2 separate regions of the Homo sapiens genome follow, and region 1 is linked to region 2. The links are contacts of gene promoters, found by promoter capture Hi-C in blood cells and fetal thymus (Javierre and others, 2016). All regions are on one chromosome and are shown on one strand. Each heading gives the region's core, a stretch centred on a gene start or on the middle of the fragment in contact. The rest is flanking DNA. Distances are from core to core; before and after follow the strand shown.

Region 1 (5,781 bases), core at 1,268-3,767, 1.4 Mb before region 2:
TCTTGCTATGTTGCCCAGGCTGGTCTTGAACTCCTGGGCTCAAGTGATCCTCCCACCTTCCAAAGTACCGGGATTACAGGCGGGAGCCACTGCCCCGGCCACTTCCTTGTTTTATTTGTCTTCCTGTTGACTGTCTGCTACTCCCTCTAAAGCACAGGCTTCCTCAGGTGGGGACCTCCCTGCTTTGTTCCCTGCTGTTCCTCCAACAGATGAATTTCCAGCGCAAATTCATCCCGGAGCGTGAATTCACGCAGAGCCCCTGCACACACTGCAGGGCGAGGGAAGTCCAGCTCCATCCACCAGTCCGCAGGGGCAGCACCTCGACCTGCCTCAGTAGAGCTACGCTCCCAACACCACCACCCCACTCAGGGTCAGTCCTGGTGAAGGGGCATGCGGGCACCCCACGTCGCCTTTGTCTGTCCTTGAAAGAATGCCAGGCCGTGTGCTCAGGGAAGGCCGAGCAGATGAGGGAGAATTTCAGTTACACAGGCCTCCCTCAGCAGCTGAACAGGCGCCAGGAGTACCGGCAAGGACTCGGCAGATGGACGGTATTCATGGCAACACAAAAGATATGGTAGTCCATATTATCAAATCAAATACAAAACACGTAAAAGGCTTAGCTTCAGGGCACTGGCCTCATTCAACGGGTACCCTCCCCTTCTCCTGCTCTGCCCACCTGTCTAGCTCTGAACCTCTAAAGCAGAATGCAAATGGCCTGCTTTCATTGGGCCTCTGGGGTTAGAGCCAGCTGAGAGGCACAGGGTGTGGCAGGGGCGGGGGTGCCCAACCCAGCACAGCCAGGGGGTTCCAAAGGGAGGCAGAAATGAGACCGCAGGCCTATTCTCACTTCTGCTCAAGAGCCTGGCTATTTTAGGACTCCAGTCTTAAAAATACTTGGGAAATAATTAAGCTTCTATATATAGTAGATTAACATTTATTTCAAATGTGCTTGTCAAATAACTCTAATACTGAATCTAACAAGGTTAACTCTTTACTGCTTGTCACGTTCTAATGAAAAAGTCTACAGAAGTCTAATGTATAGTCCAGTATCAAATCGTTCTAGAAAATGATTACAGTAAAGATAAAACAATCTCCCAAGTTGAAAGGCAACTAGGGAGCTGTGTTTAAGGGACAGAGGTCCACTGCAGCCTCTCCTTCCTGAGTCAGGGCCATGCTGGGGTCTCGAACTCCGCATACCAGTCCCTGGAGAAGACCCTCTCTGGGTGGAGCCCCCTCTTGGCTGAGCAAAGGTCTTCTTAGCTAAGCTCCAAGTTCAAGGCACAAGTTTGGAATAACAGGCCTGGGTAGAAATGAAACCCACCTAGCGACCAGGAGAGCCTAACACAAATCACCTAGAAGTTGCCAAGGGCTGGTCTGAGAAAACCCGGGCACACGCTACGGTCGCCTCATCTGGGGACTGAGGGCAGGGCTGGGTCCCATGGACTCTTGATCCCCAGCATTTAACTCAATTCTGGTAAACCAAAACTACACGTTCTTCAGCCTCGAAGGGTGCTCCGAGGTGACAGCAATTCCAATGCTGTTTATCTGTTGGTAGGGAATGACAGTCCCTCAGCCCGTCCTCTGTCAGGGAAGCCCAAGCAGTGCTTATGACCTGGGTCACCCCATGGCACGACGACCGGCATGACACAGCGGAGACGGCTCCCTGGACGTGGCTGTAAGGCCCTCTTAGCAAACCATCCCGTCTTACTTCAACAACAAGTAAGTGGCCTGGGTCTCTCGGTGTAGTCTCAGACGCACCAACCACAGCCACTGGGGAGGCCAGCGGGGAGCCCGGCTGCTCCGATGCACCATCCTTTCTGTAAAATACTCATGTGGTCGCCACAGCGGGGCTACATTAAGCCATTTCTGGGCCCGTAAGGAGACAGGAGGCCTCCACTGCCCAACTCTTCCTCCTTCCACCCTCTCCATCCTCCCGAGTCCAGTGAGCACCTGGCAGCTCTCACGGGCCGTCAGCCCCGCCAAATGCCCGCTGACACCTGCATGTCCCCCTCCCTCTGGCCCTTATTGTTTCTTTTTCCAGTAAACGGACAATGAGCCTGTGGGGAACACCAAGTTCTAATTCATCTCCAAGAAGCCTGCAGCCTAGTCGAGTAGACAAGAAACCAGACCAAGTGGGACAGAGGAGCTGGCAGCAATCACAGAATGCCCTACCCTTCCTTCAAGAGATGTCGGATGTGTCCAGCTCCCAACCCCCACCTGTCCTCTACAAAGACACAGGAATGAACTGCCATGGCTCCAGGTCACCCACACCTGGACACCCATCCCGGCCTGTCACTCAGCTGCGTGACCGTGACTATCCCACGCAACCTCACGTGCTATCACCTGCAACATGAGCGCCCCCGCACTCCTGAGGACAGGTGTGGGAGGACTCGGCCTGTTCCACGCAACCTCATGTGCTATCATCTACAACATAAGCGTTCCCGCCCTCCTGAGGGCAGGTCTAGGAGGACTCAGCCTGTTGTGGGTGGTGGCCTGCCCTGTTTTCTCAGGCTGACCAAGTGAAGGAGATGGGAGGGAACAGGCACCAGGGCCACAGAGGGCGCACGGGGACACAGGCCCTGCCTTTAGGGTGCACCCTCTTGTCCACTCAAGACTGCAGAGGCATTTCGGAGATCTCACCGGTCAGACGGGCCAAAGTGTAGCCCCAGGCCCTGGTGCCTCATCTTCCATCACAAACCCAGCAACCATCACTGCCAGGCAGATCTTCAGGAACCCAACAAGGTTTTGTTCTGCAAAGTACTTAGAAGTGACAGGCTTAAGCCAAATCTCCACAAACACTAGAATGACACTTGGTCACACCAAACAGTACAACTTTTGTTTCTTAAGCCACCTTCTTATAAGAAAAAACATTTATTTTCCCAGCCTTGAAAAAGCCAGTCAAGAGCTAAAGTTCAATCCAAATTTCTGAGGAAAACAAAGGTGCCCTGGCCTGTCCTGCTCCTTCCAGCTGGAGGCTCCTGGGAAGCAGAGCCCACACCTAACCATCCTCTCCAGCAGCCACAGGCATGAAGAACGCAGGGCGTGGCGGGCGCTGGCCAGGGGGACCAGTGGGAGAAGGCGGCTGGACACTCTAGGTAGAAGTGGGGGCCCAAGCCATGGCCTGTGTGCCCCCAGGGGATCAGCAGGATGACCTAAGTCACAGGTGATTGATCAGGGCCACAGGTGACTGATCTGAGTCAGGTCAACAGGGACATAAGAAAACATGAGAATGTTGACAACGGGAATGCCTGCATGCAGCCAGACCCCTGCACTGCCACGGGCAATGGGCGCCCTATCCCTGTGGGACAGCTCCACGCAGGGATGACAGACAGGGAGCCAGGCGCCAAGCAGACAGTTCTGAGCTGGCAGGTCTGGGCTGGGGCTGTGGAGAAGCAGGCATTTCTAACAAGGCCCTAAGTGGCCCTACTTTGAGAGTCCCAGCCTTAGAACAGCTCCGGGGACTCCTCAGTGCCAAGGGCCTTTCATCCCTTTCTACCCGGACTCTACCTCCCACAAGCCTCATGGGCACAGCTTGGCTCTCAGGACTGTAAACCAAAAATAAAATCCTGAGTCCCCTAACTGACTGAATTGAACCCCCTCTTGGCCAAGGAGACCCCAGGGCAACCTGAGGAAAGAAATTCCAGGCCCTGACGGCAAGGGAGGTCAGACACGCCTGGTTACATCACCTCCCTTTGGAGTTTAGGCAGAGCTGACCAGCGTGATGAAACAGAGATCACAGACAGACAGCACAGCCTCAGCAGCAACGACACCAAACTCCAGCCTGACTCGGGTACAGCACCACATGACAAATAGCACACCCTGCAGGAAATCAAAATATTTCACCCCCAAATACATTTATTTCCCTGACATATTTGAAATGGTCCTGCAAAGCTGTCTTTTGTGAGGGAAATTTGCATCTGTAGAGAATCTCCCTCCCTTTCTAGGTCTTTCCTGGATCTAGGAGACATTTAACGAGTCTGACAGCATTCAGGTCTGAAAAGAGACATTTACCCTCTATTCTCCCCAAGGCTGCTGCCTGTGAGGCTTCATCTACTTAACCTTGGCCTCCACAGCCCCTTTAGCTTAACTCAAGCATTTCTCTTTGCTGACTTCAAGTCTTTAGACAAAGCTTAACTCTTTCAATCAATTGCCAGTCAGAATCCACCTATGATCTGTAAACCTACCCCTTCCTATACCTTACATGTACTGATTTATGTCTCTCTGCCTATAACTTCTGTCTCCCTAAAATGTATAAAATCAAATTAACGTGACTGCCTAGAGCACACTTTCTTAGGACCTCTTGACACTGTTCCCCTGGCCATGGCCACTACACTTATTGGCTCAGAACAAACCTCTTTCAGTATTTTATAGTTTGGCTTTTTAGCCAACAGGACCCTCTGCCTGGGCTCCCTGAAGCCCTCTCCCTGCTGCCTGGTCAGGTCACCGCTGTCTTTCACTTTCAGCCATATCCTCCTCCAGTCTCAGTCTCAGGCACAAGCCTGTTCTTCCTGTCGTGACTGGGAAGACAGTCAGCCTCACTAAAGGAGGCTTACTGAGTTGAGTTCATCACACCACTGGGTATGGACGTTACTGTGTGGCTCTCAGGAGGGGCCTTCCTTCTGAGCTCCAGGGACAGTTCTCAAGGCTGCCTATGTGCTGCTTCGGTTACAGAATTTGCAATATTTGAATCTGGTACGATCTTTAGACTTCAGCGACTCAACTGAAAAAAAAAAATCAAAACCAAAACCCACAAAAAAAGTGACCAAGTCCTGCCAGGGCCACCTGCATTTTAATGAACATATCTGTTTCTGCCACTGAATAACACACAAGAACTGAAGGGTTCCCTACGTGATTGAATTACTTGTTTGTTTTCCTAAAAGCAGTGTCTAAAAACCCCACTGAACAGTTTTTCTGTCCATCTCTTCCAGTCTCTGACCTCAGTTCTGAGTCAGGTCAACAGGGACATAAGAAAACATGAGATCAAAGAGGAGGAATCCATTAGAATCAAAAGGCCCCAGCTCTCTAAGAGGAGAATGCATTTTAAAGATAACCATTTACAGTAACATACAAAAGCCCTACTTAGACTTGAAAAAAAGTTTCTTTACAAATCTGTTTGCGATGAGAAAAATACAGCAGGATTGGGTGTAAGGCATAAAAACAAAGGTGCAGGAAGAAAGAGTAGCAATTTGTTACAGATCTTGCCCACTGAAACATGTAATTTGAGGTTAGCACAACACAGGAAGTCCTGCCAAACCTCACTGGGTCGGGAGGACCTCCTACTTCAGTGATTTAAATACCATTTTAAGGGAAGGGTGTTGTGAATGCCCCCTCCCACGCCAACTCTAACCTGTAGAGCAGGCGAGTAACTTCGTGACTGGTTAACAACGTGCGACCAGATGAAAGCACTAAACAATAAAGTGCGGAACACTACCAGCAGTTTGGTGAAAGATTTCTCAAAGGCTGTGCATCTGTGATCAAGGAGCCCACCAATGAAATTCTTTGTAGAGTTAAAAAAATTGCTTTATAGGTTGTTTTGGGGTATTATAGAGAAGTCTCCAGAGTATTTGGACTTCTAAGTTGTGGGTTCACTTTGAGCACCCACTATATGGCCAGCGATCCGAACCAGAAAGTTAATGATGAAGGTTCAAAGGGAATGGGGTGGCTACGAGTGTGGAATAGGAATGAGGGATCCTCAGAGAACAGGAATTCTGGGCACTGGGGATGGGGTGTGTGGACGCTAGGAAACAGGTAGGGTAGGAGGCCTGGAAGGTCAATGAAGTT
Region 2 (6,049 bases), core at 2,780-5,279:
TCAGCCTCCCAAAGTGCTGGGATTACAGATGTGAGCCACTACACCCAGCCTTGACTGTTTTTGTTTTGTTTGATTTTGAGATGAAGTCTCACTCTGTCACCCAGGCTGGAGTGCAGTGGCGTGATCTCAGCTCACTGCAACCTCCCCCGCCGAGCTCAAGTGATTCTCCTGCCACAGCCTCCTGAGTAGCTGGGATTACAGGCACGTGCCACCACGCCTGGCTAATTTTTGTATTTTTAGTAGAGATGAGGTTTCACCATGTTGGCCAGGCTGGTCTTGATCTCCTGATCTCAAGCGATCTGCCCGCCTCGGCCTCCCAAAGTGCTGGGATTACAGGCATGGACCACTGCGCCCAGCCTGTTTCATTGCAATTCTTCCAGTTAACGCAAGCTGTGGGCCAGCCTAGGTTCCAGGGGAAGCCCCCCGGTGGGAAGAGCAGCAGGGATGCAAAGGTGGGCGGGATCTTTGAGGAGGGACCACCACGCCCTAGGAAGGAGACTGCTGAGGTAGAGGAGGGTTTTGGAGGAGGAACCATGAGACTGACACGTGTTTACCACACTTTTCTTTTCCCTCCCTCCCTTCCTTTTTTTTTTTTTTTTTGAAATGTAGTTTCACTCTTGTCGCCCAGGCTGGAGTGCAATGGCCCAATCTTGGCTCACTGCAACCTCCACCTCCTGGGTTCAAGCGATTCTCCTATCTCAGCCTCCCGAGTAGCTGGGATTACGGGCGTGTGCCACCACCATGCCCGGCTGATTTTTTTTGTATTATTAGTAGAGATGGGATTTCACCATGTTGACCAGGCTGGTCTTGAACTCCTGACCTCAGGTGATCTGCCCACCTCGGCCTCCCAATGTACTGGGATTACAGGCAGAGCCATTGCGCCCGGCCCACACTTTTCCTTTTCTGTATGTTATTATGCTTTGACATCTTGGGGGCTTTACTAGTCAGGGAGATGCTGCCCCTTCCAGGGCTGGCTAATCCCCAGAGCTAGCAAACAACTTTATAAACACCAATCCAGAGCCCATATCCCCAGTCTCTTCCTGATCTGACTCTCACACCCCAAGCCAGCATTTCTCCTGCCCTGCATCCCCCAGGGACAGATACCAGACGGCTAGAGCCCCCTGCTGTGACCTAGAGTCTGCTGACATGATTCAAGCTATCTAATCCTAAACTTGCTCACACTTACCTACCCTGCCTTGTCCATTTTCACCCTGAGGAAAACACAAAAAAGGCTCTGGGTCATGCTCTCTCCTGGCTCCTCCTGACCCTGGTACTTCCCCTTCTGGCCCTGCGTGGCATGGCAGGGCCCCTCCTCCTGAGAACCACGAGTACTAAATCCTTCCTTTGTGGCACTTGTCTTCTAGTCTGTCACTTTACTATACCTGATTCAAACAAAACCCAGGTACTTTTAGGATATAGGGCAGGAGGCTGGAAGGATTGCCTGTGTGGATTCAGAAGCACTGAGTTTCCACACTTGGAGATGGAGGGAATGACAGTGAGTTAGGAGCTAAAATCACCAAGAAATGAAGATGCCGACCAGAGCGAAGGTGGTGCTGGTGATTCTGAGACCAGGAAGCTTACACATGGTAGCTCCCAGGGTGGAGAATGGCCTGGTAGTGTTAGGAAGGAGCCAGGAGGGCCCCAACCCCACCTACAGACCCAGAGGTAGAGGGATCCTGCGAAAAGATATCTCTACACCCGAAAGCTCCAGGGGAAGCCAGGTTTTCATGAGAGTGCAGCTAGAAGTATGCTTGGAGAAGAAGAGTCTAATGACAGGGCGGTTGGTGCTGGTGGTGGTTTCTGGAACACAGGATGGGTGGGAGATAGGGTCAGAATCAAGGATGTGCAGAGTCCTGTGGGGCTTAGATTGTGGCTGACCTGGGATAAAGGCCACCTGTGTTCTGTGTCCATTGTCTTCCATCTCAGTAGCTTGCAATACAGTCTGTCTGTCCCTTGCTTGAAACACTTTCTTTTTTTTCTTTTTCTGTTTTTTTTTTTTGAAATGGAGTCTCACTCTGTTGCCCAGGCTGGAGTGCAGTGGCGTGATCTTGGCTCACTGCAAGCTCCGCCTCCTGGATTCACGCCATTCTCCTGCCTCAGCCTCCCAAGTAGCTGGGACCACGGCGCCTGTCACCACGCCCGGCTAATTTTTTTTTTTCTTTTTGTATTTTTAGTAGAGACGGGGTTTCACCATGTTAGCCAGGATGGACTCGATCTCCTGACCTCGTGATCCGTCCACCTCGGCCTCCCAAAGTGCTGGGATTAGAGGTGCGAGCCACCGCGCCCGGTGAAACACCTTCTTTCTGACTTCTGGCATGGCCGACTGCCATTCGGGAGGGCTGTCCACAATCCTTGCCATCCCATGGCACCCTTCTCTCTTGTTCGGGAATTCTGCCTGTGCATAGCCTTGGCAGGAAAGTGTCTGGAGCATGGCCAGTTAGACCCACCTCCGGAAACATCGGAATCCTAAGGGAGTGAGCTGGGCCTGGGGCTTCAGGGCCTCTCCCAGCCTGGCCCGGGGGCCCCTCCAGCCTGTGAGCCCCTTTCTCTTTGCTGGGGTGCCAGACTCCTCCTCCCTGACCTGTTACCTTCTACCAACTAGGGATGGCAACATTTTAGTGCTTGACTCCCAGGCTCATGCACGGAAGTACTTGGTCCATTGGGGATCAGTGGCACCTCAGACTCTGCATGTGATGACCCTCCCACCCCCAAACCATGTGTATCTAGGTCCGTCCTCCCCATCAGAGAAGGCCACCCTCTTCACCGGCTGTCCTAGAAAAACTCGCAGCACTGGGGCCCGCACACCCACTCCGTGGTGAGCTGGTCCTTGTCGAGCGACGCCTTCCCTCTCCAGGACTACCCAACCGGTCTCTCCCGCCTTAGGTCCCCTGGGTATTTGAGTCCCACCCCCCGCGGCTCACTCTCTACAAAGGGACCCTTTAAAAAAGATAAATGGGAGTGTGTTCCTCCTGGTTTCAAGTGATCCAAGTCCTCGCCCCACCTGGCCCCCGACCCTTCTGCTGCGGACCCCTGCCCAAGGGCCTCCGCCCAAGTGTGGCTCCCTTGGGCCCACACCCCATCAGGCCAGCAAGGAGGGGGATAGCGGGGGGCGGGGCAGGTGCTGGGACTCCGGGCAGGTGCGGGGAAGGCAGGGGGCGGGGGGGGAAGGGGTTGGGCGATGCAGGTGTTGGGGGCCGGGACAGTTGCGGGGGTAGGCAGGTACCGGGAAGGCGGGAGGGCGGGCAGGTTCCGGAGGGGCGCGACAGGTGCTGGGACGCGAGGTAGGTGCGGAGAAGGTTGGGGGTGCGGGGCAGGAGCCGGGGGTGGGGGTTGAGGCGGGGCAGGTCCTACGCGGCGGAGCATCCCCGCCCAGGACGCCCGCGCGGCCCCGTGACGTTTTTCCGCGACTCGGGGTGAGGGAGACCCCTGGGCGGGACGGGCGGAGGGTGGGGGCGGAGGAGTGGGTTCTGCCCGCAGCAGAGTGCAGCGGGGAGACCTTCCCAGTCTCAGAGCTCGCCTCGGCCCCGCCCCCAGCCCTGCCCCCCGACGGAGACGCGGCGGTGACTCCCTCCGTGGGGGACGCACGGGACGCTTGCGCCTCAAGTCCCTTAAGCGGCGCCCGACGCAGCGCAGCACCTACCCAGCCGGGACAGGGCCAGGGCCGGGGATGGATGAGCGCGGCCGGGGGGCGGGGCAGGGGTGGGGCGGCCGAGGCAGGGGCGGAGCTGGGAAGGCGAGGCAGGGGCGAAGGGCGGGGGCGGGGCGAGGAGGCTGTCAGAGGGGCGGGGAATAACGAGGGGGCGGGGCCACACGGACGGATGGGGCGGGGAATAGGGGCTGGGCCGGGCCTCCGAGCGGCAGTCCGCGGGCTACGGGGCGGCCGGGGGGCTGGGCGGGGCCGTGGGGCGGGGCAGGGCCTGGGAGGGGCCGGATGGGGGTGGAGGCCGGGATTGGGACGGATGGGGGCGGGGCATAGGAGGGGGCGGGGCCGGGCCTCGGAGCCGGGACTCGCGGGCGGCGGGCGGGGGCGTCGCTGCGCGGCTGGCCGGTGAGGCCGCGGCATGGGGCGAGTGCAGCTCTTCGAGATCAGCCTGAGCCACGGCCGCGTCGTCTACAGCCCCGGGGAGCCGTTGGCTGGGACCGTGCGCGTGCGCCTGGGGGCACCGCTGCCGTTCCGAGGTGGGCGCGGGTCCTCGGGGAGGGCCTTTGGCCGCACCTGCGCGGGGCCAGGGCTCCCGGAAGCGGCTGCCGTCGCCTGGCCCCGGGTTGGGCCCGCGGAGTCGCTGTCTTCGCCGCCCGGGACTGCTGGGAAGCGGGCTCGGCGGCGCCGGGGAGGTCCGGGCGGCGCCGCCCTTCCGCGTCTGCCCTTCCTGCCCTCTCGCCGAGGGGCGGCGGGGTCCCGGCGGGGCCTGAAGCGGGTCCACTGTGGAGGACGCCCTGAGCGCGGGCGCACGCAGGCCTGCGACCCTCCCCGTCCGCGCTCGCACCTGCTGGGCTCCTTCCCGCACCCTGGCTCCCGGCGCAGGCGCTCCCGCTGCAGAGCCGCTCCTGGCGCGGGCGTGCGGTCCCGGCGGGGTGCAGACACCTGCTGCGGCTCCCTGCGCCCCCTGCCACCCGCCAGCAGGCCTCGCCGGCCCCCCGCCGAGGTGGACGCCTGGGCCTCGGGGACTGGGTATCGGGTTGCTGCAGTGGCCGCTGGCAGGGCGCCCTGGAGGTGAGGGCCGGCCCGCGAGGTGAGGCTGCCTCTGCCCGGCCCTTGGCTGTGAGTGCCGCGTCCCTGCCGGGGACTTCTCTACCTTGGCCTCCTGTGGGAACCACCTGGGCTGCTTGGCCTGTGCCACAGCCCCTGGACTTGCCGCTGGACCTTGACCGCTGGGCCCGCGCGTGGGTAACAGCACCGATTTTGTGCCTGCTGAGAACCCACAGTCTCTGTTCTGTCCTCTCAGCCTCCTGGGACAGGTGATGGTGCTGTGGCCCTGACCCTGCACCGCCTGAGGCTGTGGGGCCTCGGAAGAAGCCGGGTGGTAGGTGCTTCTGTCAGGCTCCTGGCCCCACTGGGCCTCCTGGGATGACCCCACAGCCTCCCTTCCTCTGTCCCAACCTTGAGTTTGGGGTCTGGGTGGGGGCAGGTGTGGCCGTGGCAGGGCAGAGATAGCACACACATCTCTTGGGTACAGGTGTGGTGTGTGGTGAGGCCGGCTGGATCCTGGTTGAGGGCTGTGCAGGACCCTGTCGTCCTTCCCCTGGCGTGGCCTGGGGTGAGCAGGCCATTGCTTACCACAGGGAAGGGACGGCCCCGCGGTGCGTGACTGGCCTGGGTGTGCAGGCTCCCCTGGCCTCCGGGTGGACGTGGTGGGTGGGTTGAATGCTCACGCCTGTAATCCCAGCACTTTGGGCAGCTGGCCCAAGAGCCGAGGGAGCACTGGCTGATGGTCCTACCTCACAGAGGCTGGTCTGAATGAGGGAGAAAAAGGAGGGTCGTGAGCTAAGGAGTAGGAGATGGGCCCTGATGGGCCAGAGAGCACATGATTCAGGCTGCTGCAAGTGAGGTGGGAGGGTGTACCGGGGCCCCCGGGGGTTTCCCCCAGCCCTGCCTGGGATGGGAACAGAAGGACCATGGTTTCTTTTCCTCATTCAGAGGATGCTTGTCAATCCTGCTAGGAGCCAGTAGGGAGGCCCTCAGCCCCCAGGAGGACAGCAGCCCTGCCTGGGCCCCAGAGCTTGCTCACTTACTCTGCCGATGAGTGTCGGTGACAGTCAGCACCCAGCCGTGAGGACACCGGCTGTCTAAAGGGCTGACGCGGAGGGAGGCCTGGGAGGGAGCAGTTTTCTGGAGCTCAGGCTGGCCCAGTCCAGGGCTGGGGTTCAGGCAGGACCACTTCTTGTTCTGCTGTTACTGGGATGGGCGACCAGGGCCGACAGTGGTTCTCGGAGCACTCATGGTGGGCCCGATGCAATTCTCTCCACGTGCCACGGGCCAGCCTCAGTTAACCCTCAGCGCCCTGGCAAGTGGCACGGTTGTTACTCTCATGATACAGATTTGGAAACA

Evidence for each region. Contacts are between HindIII fragments. The CHiCAGO score rates a contact against its expected background, and 5 or more counts as called.
Region 1: a contact is called between a fragment that was not itself captured here and the fragment with the promoter of ARRDC1 in region 2, in 1 of 17 cell types (fetal thymus). The highest score is 5.1, in fetal thymus.

The regions. Positions count from the first base shown.
Region 1 is chr9:136,239,335-136,245,115 of GRCh38, forward strand. All of the region lies in intron 1 of QSOX2 (quiescin sulfhydryl oxidase 2), which reads right to left. Among named protein-coding and RNA genes, the nearest start is that of QSOX2, 3.6 kb to the right of the region's middle. RefSeq lists an enhancer at 1-407 and a silencer at 623-752. The HindIII fragment of the contact is 3,219 bases long and covers 909-4,127 here.
Region 2 is chr9:137,601,657-137,607,705 of GRCh38, forward strand. It overlaps ARRDC1 (arrestin domain containing 1), which reads left to right and starts at 4,030. Exons shown (of 8, transcript NM_152285.4): 1 at 4,030-4,179. The coding sequence starts at 4,062. LOC124902318 (a long non-coding RNA gene) reads right to left here and starts at 3,682. Exons shown (of 3, transcript XR_007061885.1): 1 at 3,641-3,682. RefSeq lists silencers at 3,292-4,421, 4,432-4,701. The HindIII fragment of the contact is 16,425 bases long and covers 1,575-6,049 here.